Regions from separate parts of the Homo sapiens genome. Here region 2 is linked to region 1. The links are contacts of gene promoters, found by promoter capture Hi-C in blood cells and fetal thymus (Javierre and others, 2016). All regions are on one chromosome and are shown on one strand. The core of a region is centred on a gene start or on the middle of the fragment in contact, and the rest is flanking DNA. Distances in the headings are between cores, read along the strand shown.

Region 1 (5,025 bases), core at 1,069-3,568:
CCAGCTACTCAGAAGGCTGAGGCACAAGAATCGCTTAAACCTGGGAGGCAGAGGTTGCAGTAAGCTGAGATCGCAGCAGTACACTCCAGCCTGGGGTACAGAGTGAGACTCCCTATCAATAAATAAATAAATAAAGCATATAGAGTAGGTATATAATGGGCTTTCCTTGGTCAATTCTTGGTTCTCATCTTACTTGGCCAGTCAGCAGAATTTGCCACAGTTGATCATTCCTTTCTTCCTGAAATACTTTCTCTACCTGCTTCTAGTACACCAGGCACTTAATGGTTTTCCACTGGCCCCTCCTCCTTAGTCTCTGTTGGTTTCTTCTTATTGCCTCTCCCTGTCCATGCTGGAGCATCCCAGGGCTCAATCCTTGGACTCTTCCCTTCTCCATTTACACACACACTCCCTTAGCTATTCATCAAGTGTCATCATTTAAATATCATATGAATCCCAAATGTATATCTCATCTGACTTCCAGATTCAAATGTCCAACTACCTACATAGTAGCTCCACCTGGATGCTGAATCACATCTCAATTTTTATAAAAGTAAACTCTTGATCTCCCTCCCTCTTGCTCTTCCCACAATACAATTCCACCCCAGGTCTTTCCCATCTGCCATTCTCCCTGTGTGACCTACTTTTTGCACAAAAATCCTCATCAATTGCTCCCATATCTTTCTCATCTTTCTCAAAAGCAACTTTTCCTGACCTTCCCTAACCAGGCTTCTCACCACCCCATTTAAAATTGCAACACTCAGGCCAGGCGCAGTAGCTCATGCCTGTAATCCAATACTTTGGGAGGTCAAGGTGGGAGGATCCCTTGAGCCCCCAAGTTCAAGGTTTCAGTGAGCCAGGATTGAGCCACTGCACAACAGCCTGTGCAAGAGTGAGACCCTGTCTCAAAAAAAAAAGATAAAATTGCAACATTCATCTCATATCCTCCAACACCATTCCCTGTTCTATTTTTCTCCCTAGCAGTCATCTCCTTGTAAGATTATTTACTTACATATTTGTTTAGTGGTTGTTTATACCCACAAAAACATATGCTCTATAAGGACATGGATTCTTATATGTTTTGTTAACTTGATGTTTTCCTAGTTCCTTGAACAGCACTTGATATACAGTATGTGCTCAATAAATAGTTGTTATATGCATAAATAAAAAATATTTTATTTTATTTATTTATTATTATTATTTTTTGAGAAGGAGTCTTGCTCTGTCGCCCAGGCTGGAGTGTAGTGGCGCGATCCCAGCTCACTGCAACCTCTGCCTCCCGGGTTCAAGCAATTCTCCTGCCTCAGCCTCCTGAGTAGCTGGGAGTACAGGCATGTGCCACCATGCCCAGCTAATTTTCGTATTTTGTATTCATGTATAAATTTTTGGCTCGCTCAAGGGTTTCACAACTTTCCATGTTATGAGTATATAAATTTGTATATGGAGAAAAAGGAATAACTTCGAGGTAGCTCAGGTTCATGAAGCTAGCTCTTGATACAATGAAGTATGTCATCCTGTGAACATGTGCACTTTAATTCCTTCTTATATTGCTATTAGGATTACAGTGACTTTTTCTTAATTTTGCTATTCATTCTGCGCAACTGTTTGCCTTTTTGGGAGTTCTATCACCATGTTATTACTGCAAACTGCGAACTCTTTTTAAGGTTCTTTCCTGCTTATGTTACCATCTTTCTTTTCTGGTCAAATAACAAATGGTGAGTTATGAAACATTTCTGTGTAGATTTTTATTTTGACCTGAGCAGGAAGCCAAGATATAACAGCTCCCAGGAATTAAGGATTGTTAAGAGCGACGAGTCTCCACTTCTTAAACTTTGTCTCTCCTGGGCCCTTCAGCCAGCCCCTGCGTCCGCAACGCTGAACCATCTCTGGGGCCACCACCTGCATCCTCCAGCCCTTTCCAGGGGTCCCTCCTCTGGCCGGCGCCCTCCCCAGTGCCCCGCCAGCGCTTACCAACGCCGGCGGAATTCGTGCTTCTCTTCCTCCGTGGTGGCTAAAGCCTTCTTTTTCCTCATAAAGCCTAACAACTCCTGGATCTCCTTCTCACAAGAGGCCAGGAGCGGGTTTTTCGCGTCCAGCGGCCCATAAAACACGGCTAGGGGCAATGAGTCCTCGGGGCAGGTCCACTGAAGCAGCGAGCTCCGGGAGCTCCCCTTCGACTCTGGGGGCGACCTCGAAGTCGCGGTGGAGGTCGGCGGCAGTTCTGGCAGAGACCCCGAGGTGGTAGAGTCGTCTGACGGAGAGCTCGAGGGGGAGCCCTGCGCCGCCATATTGACGCGCCCCGGCCCGCCTGGAGTATGTGTACACGCGGTTGCCTGGCGACGGTCTCGTGGCAACCGGGCATCCCGCGCGCATTCCGAGAAACACAGCGGCCCCTGGAGGGCAGAGCGAGAAAGAACCAGGTCCAGAAAACAATGATGCTCCTGAGGGCGTTGCCTGGTTGTGCGCTGGCACCGCTGTATGAAATGCGAACAGAGAATGTTCTGAGCAGAGCGCTGGCGAATATTAGAGCCAAAAATTTAAGGTCACAAATCCAGACTATACTCTTTATCCATGTTGGCCACTTAATAACGATAATGATGACGACCATGACCATTAACGTGTGTCAGGCATTAAGCATTTGAAACATGTACTTTCATTTATCTCATTTAATCATCATAACTACTTTACAACTTAGGATACTATTAGTATATCCATCTCACAGTTTAGGAAACCAAAGCTCAAGGAGGTTAAGTCATTTGACAAAAGTCAGCGTACAACCGTAGTGTCAGCGACCAGGTCCTCCAAAGGGAACTTGTGACTCCAAAGCCTGTGCTCAAAATGAATAGGCTGTATTGATCACTCCCCAAAACAAAGCTTATTAATCAAATTGAAATTAGAGAAATATCTGACAAGCAGTTTAAGAATCAAATACAGTTGGCCCTCCAAATCTCGGGTTCTTCATCTGTGGATTCAAGCAACTCCAGATTGTAAATATTCAGAACAAAATTAGAAATAACAATACAACAATAAAAATAACACAAAATACAACTATTTACATGGCATTTATACTGTATTAGGTATTACTAGTTATCTAGAGATGATTTAAAACATCCTGAAGGATGTGCACAAATTATATGCAAATACTACAGCATTTCATATCAGAGGCTTGAGCATCCACAGATTTTGGTATCTGCGGGTGTCATGGAACTAGTCCCCCACAGATAGCCAGGGAGTACTGAATATGCAGCTGATCCATTCTCTTTCCTCTATTTGTACCTTGAGGTCTGTAACTGTGGACATGATGTCTATGCCTCTAATAATTATGATTACATCTATTTATGCACATTCCAGCCTTACTTTAATTATCTCTGTATTCTAAATTAATGTGCATTTTGCTCAACCTTAACCATAGGACATTAATACATACTAGTGGCCTGAAGTGTTAACTCTCAAAATACTTTGCATTTTAAACAGGGCTTTTAGGAGACTTTACTTCTGATGGGGAAACTACAGACCTCCAGGGAAATACTTGGGGAGTTTATTCTTAGCCTGTGTATTATAGGCAAAAGTCAGAGTTAAATTTATTAAAGTATGAGTATTGAGAAAATGGAGAACCTTCTTTTCTATAAATTATGCAACACAATAAATTATCTAAGAGAAGAACCAGAAATATTTGGTGGCTTAGAAAAATCAGTCTTTAACCCTGAAAATTGTTACCAGTTCTATCACACTTAAATAAAGACAGTGACCCTAACACCCTGTGAACCCAATTTTCCATTTCAGACTAAGAAGCTTATTGGACCACAGCCTGATATCTTTCAAGTCTGACCTAATTTTATGCAGGCTCTGTGGGCCTGTGCTAATTTGTGAGGCTGGCCTAATATGTCATGTCTACTGTACCCTAATATTCTTTGAAGGAAAATAATTTTGCTCATCGGCACAGTTAATTATAGCCAGAGAAACTTCCTGGCAAGCAGTGAGACGCAATGACACCTCACTGTAGGAGTCCAATTCTCTAATCAGGATGTAGATATCATCCTTTGATCAACAAAGATTTTATCTTGTTCTCTAAGTGAACAACAAAAATTGTAAGGCTTTAAAGAATGTAGTCCTAGAGAAATAATCACTGGGCATTTACAAAAATATTAATAGACATTTTTAAAAGTCGGCTTGGTAAATTCTCTTTTTTCTCATCTTTTTCTTGCTCTAACATGGCAGACTTGTCCATTGCAGATCAAAAACTGGTGTAATTTGCCACTGAGTGCTATCTATTATATTGATGAAAGTGAAACAGCAGGATAAAATTAATTAAAGTGGTCACAGAAAAGGAAAGAAAAAAATAAAAGACAAAGTGGTGTTTTTCCTTCTAATCTGGCTACTGTCACAAACAAACTTTATCATAGGGCAGACACTTGTATTTCAAAGTCACTGGTAAAAGAAAATGTGACTAAGCAAATTCAAATACCTGAATTATGAAACATTGCATCTTAGTCACTTTCCCCCTTGCACACACTAAAGCTAACAATGCTTAACTTGCAGTAGTTTTTGGAAGCTTGTCTGAATATTTAAATGGGTGTTATATTCTGAATCATCATTATGATAAGATGGAAGTTTACATTTTATTTAGTTTAAATTAAATTGGCTGGGTGTCGTGGCTCACGCCTGTAATCCCAGCACTTCAGGAGGCTCAGGTGGGCGAATCACTTGACGTCAGGAGTTCGAGACCAGCCTAGCCAACATGTTGAAATCCCGTCTCTACTGAAAACACAAATATTAGCTGGGCGTGGTGTCGGACACCTGTAATCCCAGCTACTCAGGAGACTGAAGCAGGAGAATCGCCTGAACCCGGGAGGTGGAGGTTGCAGTGAGCCGAGATCATGCCACTTCACTCCAGCCTTAGCGACAGAGCTAGACCCCATCTCAAAATAAATAAATAAATAAATAAATAAATAAATAAATAAATAATAAAAATAAAATAAATAAATTGAATTTGAGGCATTTTTAACATTTTAGAGGTGTTATCTTCCT
Region 2 (5,025 bases), core at 1,419-3,918, 110 kb after region 1:
CACTATTTTAAATCGGTGCTGTGACAAACTTGAACATGCGATATCCCTTTCCCACCCGCCCACACCATTTTGCATTTCCTTAGGGTAGATAGATGTCTAGAAGTGGAATTCCCAAACCAAAGTCTGTGAACCCTTTTCTGATATCTCTGTTGTACCAGTACCACGAATAATGTGCCACATCTGTTTTTAGTGATATAATTATCTAAAATGTTTGCTTTTGATCATTGGTTTTAGAAAAATATAATTATATTTGCATTTCTTTGATTTCTGGGATGTTGGTCCTCCTCCCACCCCCATTATCCCCACGGATTGCTAAGGAGGAGACTTTGACTGCTCCCTGAATCCTGGCATCTTCTTTTTTTAATTTTTTCTGATATTTGGTTTTTATCAAGTTGTTATATAATAAAAAAAACTAGATAAGTTGTTTTGGTGATCCATCTCTTTTTATATTCATTCCAGCTTATTTTTCAATGCTTTGTAATATATTTTAATATCTAGTGTGGCAAAACACTTAATTTTTTTCTAATAATTTTGATATTCTTATATATGTATTTTTAATTCTACTTTAGTAAATGGCAGGCAAAAAAATGTAGATCTATGGACAGTAGTAGAGTTTATGGGAGGAAAATTGCGGATGATCCTTTCAGCTCACTAGAAGTCTCTATTTTTTTCTTCAAAACTGGTCTCCCTGCTATAAAATTTGAACTGTAGGTATGTCAGTATATCTATAAGAGTTGCCTCCGTAATTGAAATAGACTTCCTGTTACCCGTTGTCTAGGTTGTACACTGTAAAGAGCATCTTTTTTTTTTTTTTTTGTAGGAAAAAATGGTTTTGTACATGGGATGAAACAATGTAAACTCAAAACTTACAGATAAGGGTTAGTTGTATCACTCATCTCTTTGAAAAGTTTATATGAATATCCAGTCAAAACCAACAAGGTATCGCCCTTGAAATGTTATCTATATGGATTTCCAAGGAGACCATAGGACTGTATACTGTCTTGGAATGTCCTCAGAAGGCTTAGAGAGCATCTTGATAAAAGGTTATGTGGTTTATGATAGAGTGTATTAGTTTATTTGTGTTATTACCAAAGATGAACTTATGGTTAAAGATGAATTTAGGATTAACATGACGAGGAAAGAGTGACATTTAGCTGAGGGTATTAAGTAGATGTCTCAGATGAACTGACACTAAAGGTAATTAGCTTTACAAATAGAGAGATGAGAGAAGAGAACCACTTCCTAGGTAGGATAAAAGAACATGTAAAAAAGGGATATGAAAAAAATTTATATTCCTTTAAAAATGTTATTCTCTACCAGCCTAATGAGTATTTCCATGTGATAGAAATAGAGATAAAGGTTGCTCATAGAGGTAGTGGCAGGAAATGAGGTCAAAGAGGGAGATATTCCAGTAAGGAGGCTGTTGAACACTTTTTAGGCAGAATATCATTGTTTTCTATAGTGAAGCCATTGGGAAAGTTGTGTACAATTACAGATGAACTTCTGCAAGTTAAATGGACAACCTTTTGTGATGTTGGTGCTTCAGAAGTACTCTCAAAGGGTTGCTTTACAATATTGAAAATGCTAAAAAATGGCCGGGCACAGTGTCTCACGCCTGTAATCCCAGCACTTTAGGAGGCTGAGGCGGGTGGATCACGAGGTCAGGAGTTCAAGACCAGTCTGGCCAAGATGGCGAAACCCCGTCTCTCTACTAAAAATACAAAAATTAGCCGGGCGTGGTGGTGGATGCTTGGGCGCCTGTAATCCCAGCTACTCGGGAGGCTGAGGCAGAGAATTATATGAACCCAGGAGGCGGAGGTTGCAGTGAGCTGAGATCGCACCATTGCACTCTAGCCTGGGCAACAGGGAAGACTTTGTCTCAAAAAAAAAAAAAAAAACCAGCTAAAAAGAGCTACTTGTGCCTTTTTTGGGTAATTTTTTGGTTCACCTCAGAGACATGAGAATTACTGGTTTTTCTTTTTTGGGTTTTTTTTTTGTTTTTTTTTTGGTCGGGGGACAGAGTCTGCCTCTGTCTCTCAGGCTAGGGTGCATTGGTGCTATCATGGCTCACTGCAGGCTCAACCTCCTGGGTTCAGGTGATCCTCCCACCTCAGCCTCCATAGTAGCTGGGACTACAGGTGTGTGCCACCATGCACAGCTAATTTTTGTATTTTTTGTAGAGATGGGGTCTCACTGTGTTGCCCAGGCTGGTTTCAAACTCCTTGGCTCAAGCGATCCTCCTGCCTTGGCCTTTCAAAGTGCTGGGATTAAAGATGTTAGCTACAGCGCCCAGGGAGAATTGTTTTACTGTCTCTTAGGAGCACTTGGAAATGTGTGTTTAATTTAGAAACTCTGCCATTTTTATCTTCCGATGAGGAAATGTTTCGATATGTTAGAAATTGGTTTCACCATTTTGTTTGGGGAAATAAGAGATATAAATAGTAGATTTACTTCTGGACACGGTGGCTGATGGCTGTAATTCCTGCAAATTTGGGAAGCCAAGGTGAAAGGATTGCTTGAGCCCAGGAGTTTGAGACCAGCCTGGGCAACATAGTGAGATCCCCGTCTCTACAAAAAATGTTTAAGAAATTAGCCAGGCATAGTAATGTGTGCCTGCAGTCCTAGTTACTCAAGAAGCTCAACCTGTGGAAGGATTGCTTAATCCCAGGAATTTGAGGTTGCAGTGAGCTATGATGGCACTGCACTCCAGCCTGGGGGACAGACTTGAGACCCTGTCTCAAAAAAAAAAATTAGATTTAAAAAATATAGAAATGATAGATGCTTTTGTTTAACTATAAATATCAGCATATCTTATAATCAAGAATATAAACATTAATTGTTTCTATAAATTGTTCTGCATTTCTTTAGCCTTTATCTCCCTGCTAATATAGGTGATCATAAATCACTTTCCATTTAACAGTAATTCAGTAAACTTACATACAGGTTCTGATAATATGTTAATTTTAGCAGCTGTACTGCATTTCAGCACTTTAAATTCAACTGAGTTTGACTTGAAATACCTCCATTTTACTAAATTTAGATTTTTTTGGTACATAATTGTCCCTAGGTTTGAGCTACTCTGTCTCATAGTATGTATTTATGCTTCAGAAATTAATATCTTTTTCTTTCTTAGTATTTGAACCTTCAGATTCTTCCACTATTATAACCATTTTAAGTTCTTTTTAAAATTAAACTTATTTTTTTGGGATAGATAAAACTCAAGTATGTAGAAAGATGTACACGAAGTCTTATTTCTTCCTTTGCTTGCTACTTTATTTTCCTTCCACACTTTTTGGTATCCTGTTTATCCTTCCAGTGTTTTCCTTTTGTAGTTACAAACAAATGTGTATTTTATTCTGGAGATCTTTCCATATCTAGATAAAGATCTTTATTTTTAATAGCTTCATAGTATTTTCTTATGTAGATGTACCGTAGTTTAGTCACTCAATCCTTTGTGGCTATTTGGGTTGTTTTCTATTTTTTGCTGTTACAATGCCAAATGAATAACAATATACATGTAACATTTTCTATTTGAACAAGCAATTGTAGATCTTTAGGTCAAGTATTTTCTTCCACTGTCAGCTGAGAGAACCTAGAAGCAACAATATCCCTGTAGCAGTGAGCACACCTGGTGCCCAGATCTTGGTTTCTAACACCATTCTCCAGTAAAAGGAACCAGGCCTTTGTGGAGAAATGGCTGATTCTAGGACTGGGGCAGCTAATAAAACTGTAAGATCAACCTGGAGTATCTTGTAGTGCTGGAAAGGAAGGAACTATTCAAACAAAAACACGAATGAGTTATGTCAAAGGGACACAGCCAACTGAAAGAGTTCCCAGTAGCCAATACTGGAATAATTTGAGCAACAAAAAAGTAATATTGAATTATAACCCAAAGTATAAAATAATATCCATGAGTTCATGCTGATAGAAGTAAATGACTGACTAAATAAATAAATGGGGGAAGAATAGACAAATCTGTGCATAATTAGATACACAGCCCTCAAGGAAGTATAATACAACTCCCCACCTTTCAAGTGTGAGCTACATGAGGTGACTTCCTGCCAATAAGTACCATACTAATGTAAGATCTTACTAGCGGAAACTGAGTGTGTGGTTTAAGGGAACTCTTTACTATTTTTCTGTAAATCTAAAACGATACTAAAAGTTCACTTTTAAAAAACTGCTTCTGGGCCGGGCGCAGTGGCTCACGCCTGTAATCCCAGCACTTTGGGAGGCCAAGGTGGGCGGATCACGAGGTCAGGAGATCAAGACCATCCTGGCTAACACGGTGAAACCCTGTCTCTACTAAAAATACAAAAAATTAGCTGGGCGTAGTGGCGGGCGCCTGTAGTCTCAGCTACTTGGGAGGCTGAGGCAGGAGAATGGCGTGAACCCGGGAGGGGGAGCTTGCAGTGAGCCGAGATCGCACCACTGCACTCCAGCCTGGGCGACAGAGCGAGACTCCATCTCAAAAAAAAAAAAAAAACGAAAAAAAAAAACTGCTTCTGTAATTCTGATGCTGCCAGATTGCCATTTTGTACTACCACCTAAATGTGCAACAGGCCTGTTTCCCATAACCTCAGCAACTGAATGTGTTGTCAGACTTTTTGAGTTTTGCATTTGATAGATGAGAACTGGTTTAACTCAGGTTATTGTATTTTTCTCATTATCAATGACATTGGACATTTTTTCATATGTTTAAGGGGCATTTTACGTTTTTTCCCTTCTTTGAATTCTCATGTCCTTTATTTTTCTCTTAGGTCATTGGTCTTTGTTTTCAGGAATTTTCTGTTGGGAGATTAGCCCTTTATTTGTGATGTGGGTTGCAAATATGTATATTTTAGATTATGTTTTTTCATGCATAACTTTCGACTTTTATATGGTGAAGTAATTTTTTCTTTTATGTTTTTGGATTTTGAAATATATTTAGAAAAGTCTTCACCATTCCAAGGTTATAAGGAAGTTCATCCACATTTTCTTCTAATACTTGTGGTTGTGTTTTTCACATTTGGATTTTAAAATTTG

The links. The method cuts DNA at HindIII sites, captures the fragments that hold promoters and counts their contacts. A CHiCAGO score of 5 or more calls a contact.
Region 2: a fragment that was not itself captured here is called in contact with the fragment with the promoter of CFAP54 in region 1 in 3 of 17 cell types (neutrophils, total CD8 T cells and endothelial precursors); the score reaches 6.4 in neutrophils.

Annotation. Positions count from the first base shown.
Region 1 is chr12:96,486,870-96,491,894 of GRCh38, reverse strand. CFAP54 (cilia and flagella associated protein 54) reads right to left here and starts at 2,318. Exons shown (of 68, transcript NM_001306084.2): 1 at 1,969-2,318. The coding sequence starts at 2,285. RefSeq lists an enhancer at 2,070-2,279 and a silencer at 2,170-2,464. The HindIII fragment of the contact is 3,410 bases long and covers 1-2,873 here.
Region 2 is chr12:96,377,157-96,382,181 of GRCh38, reverse strand. All of the region lies in intron 1 of CDK17 (cyclin dependent kinase 17), which reads left to right. Among named protein-coding and RNA genes, the nearest start is that of CDK17, 21 kb to the left of the region's middle. The HindIII fragment of the contact is 6,318 bases long and covers 1-5,025 here.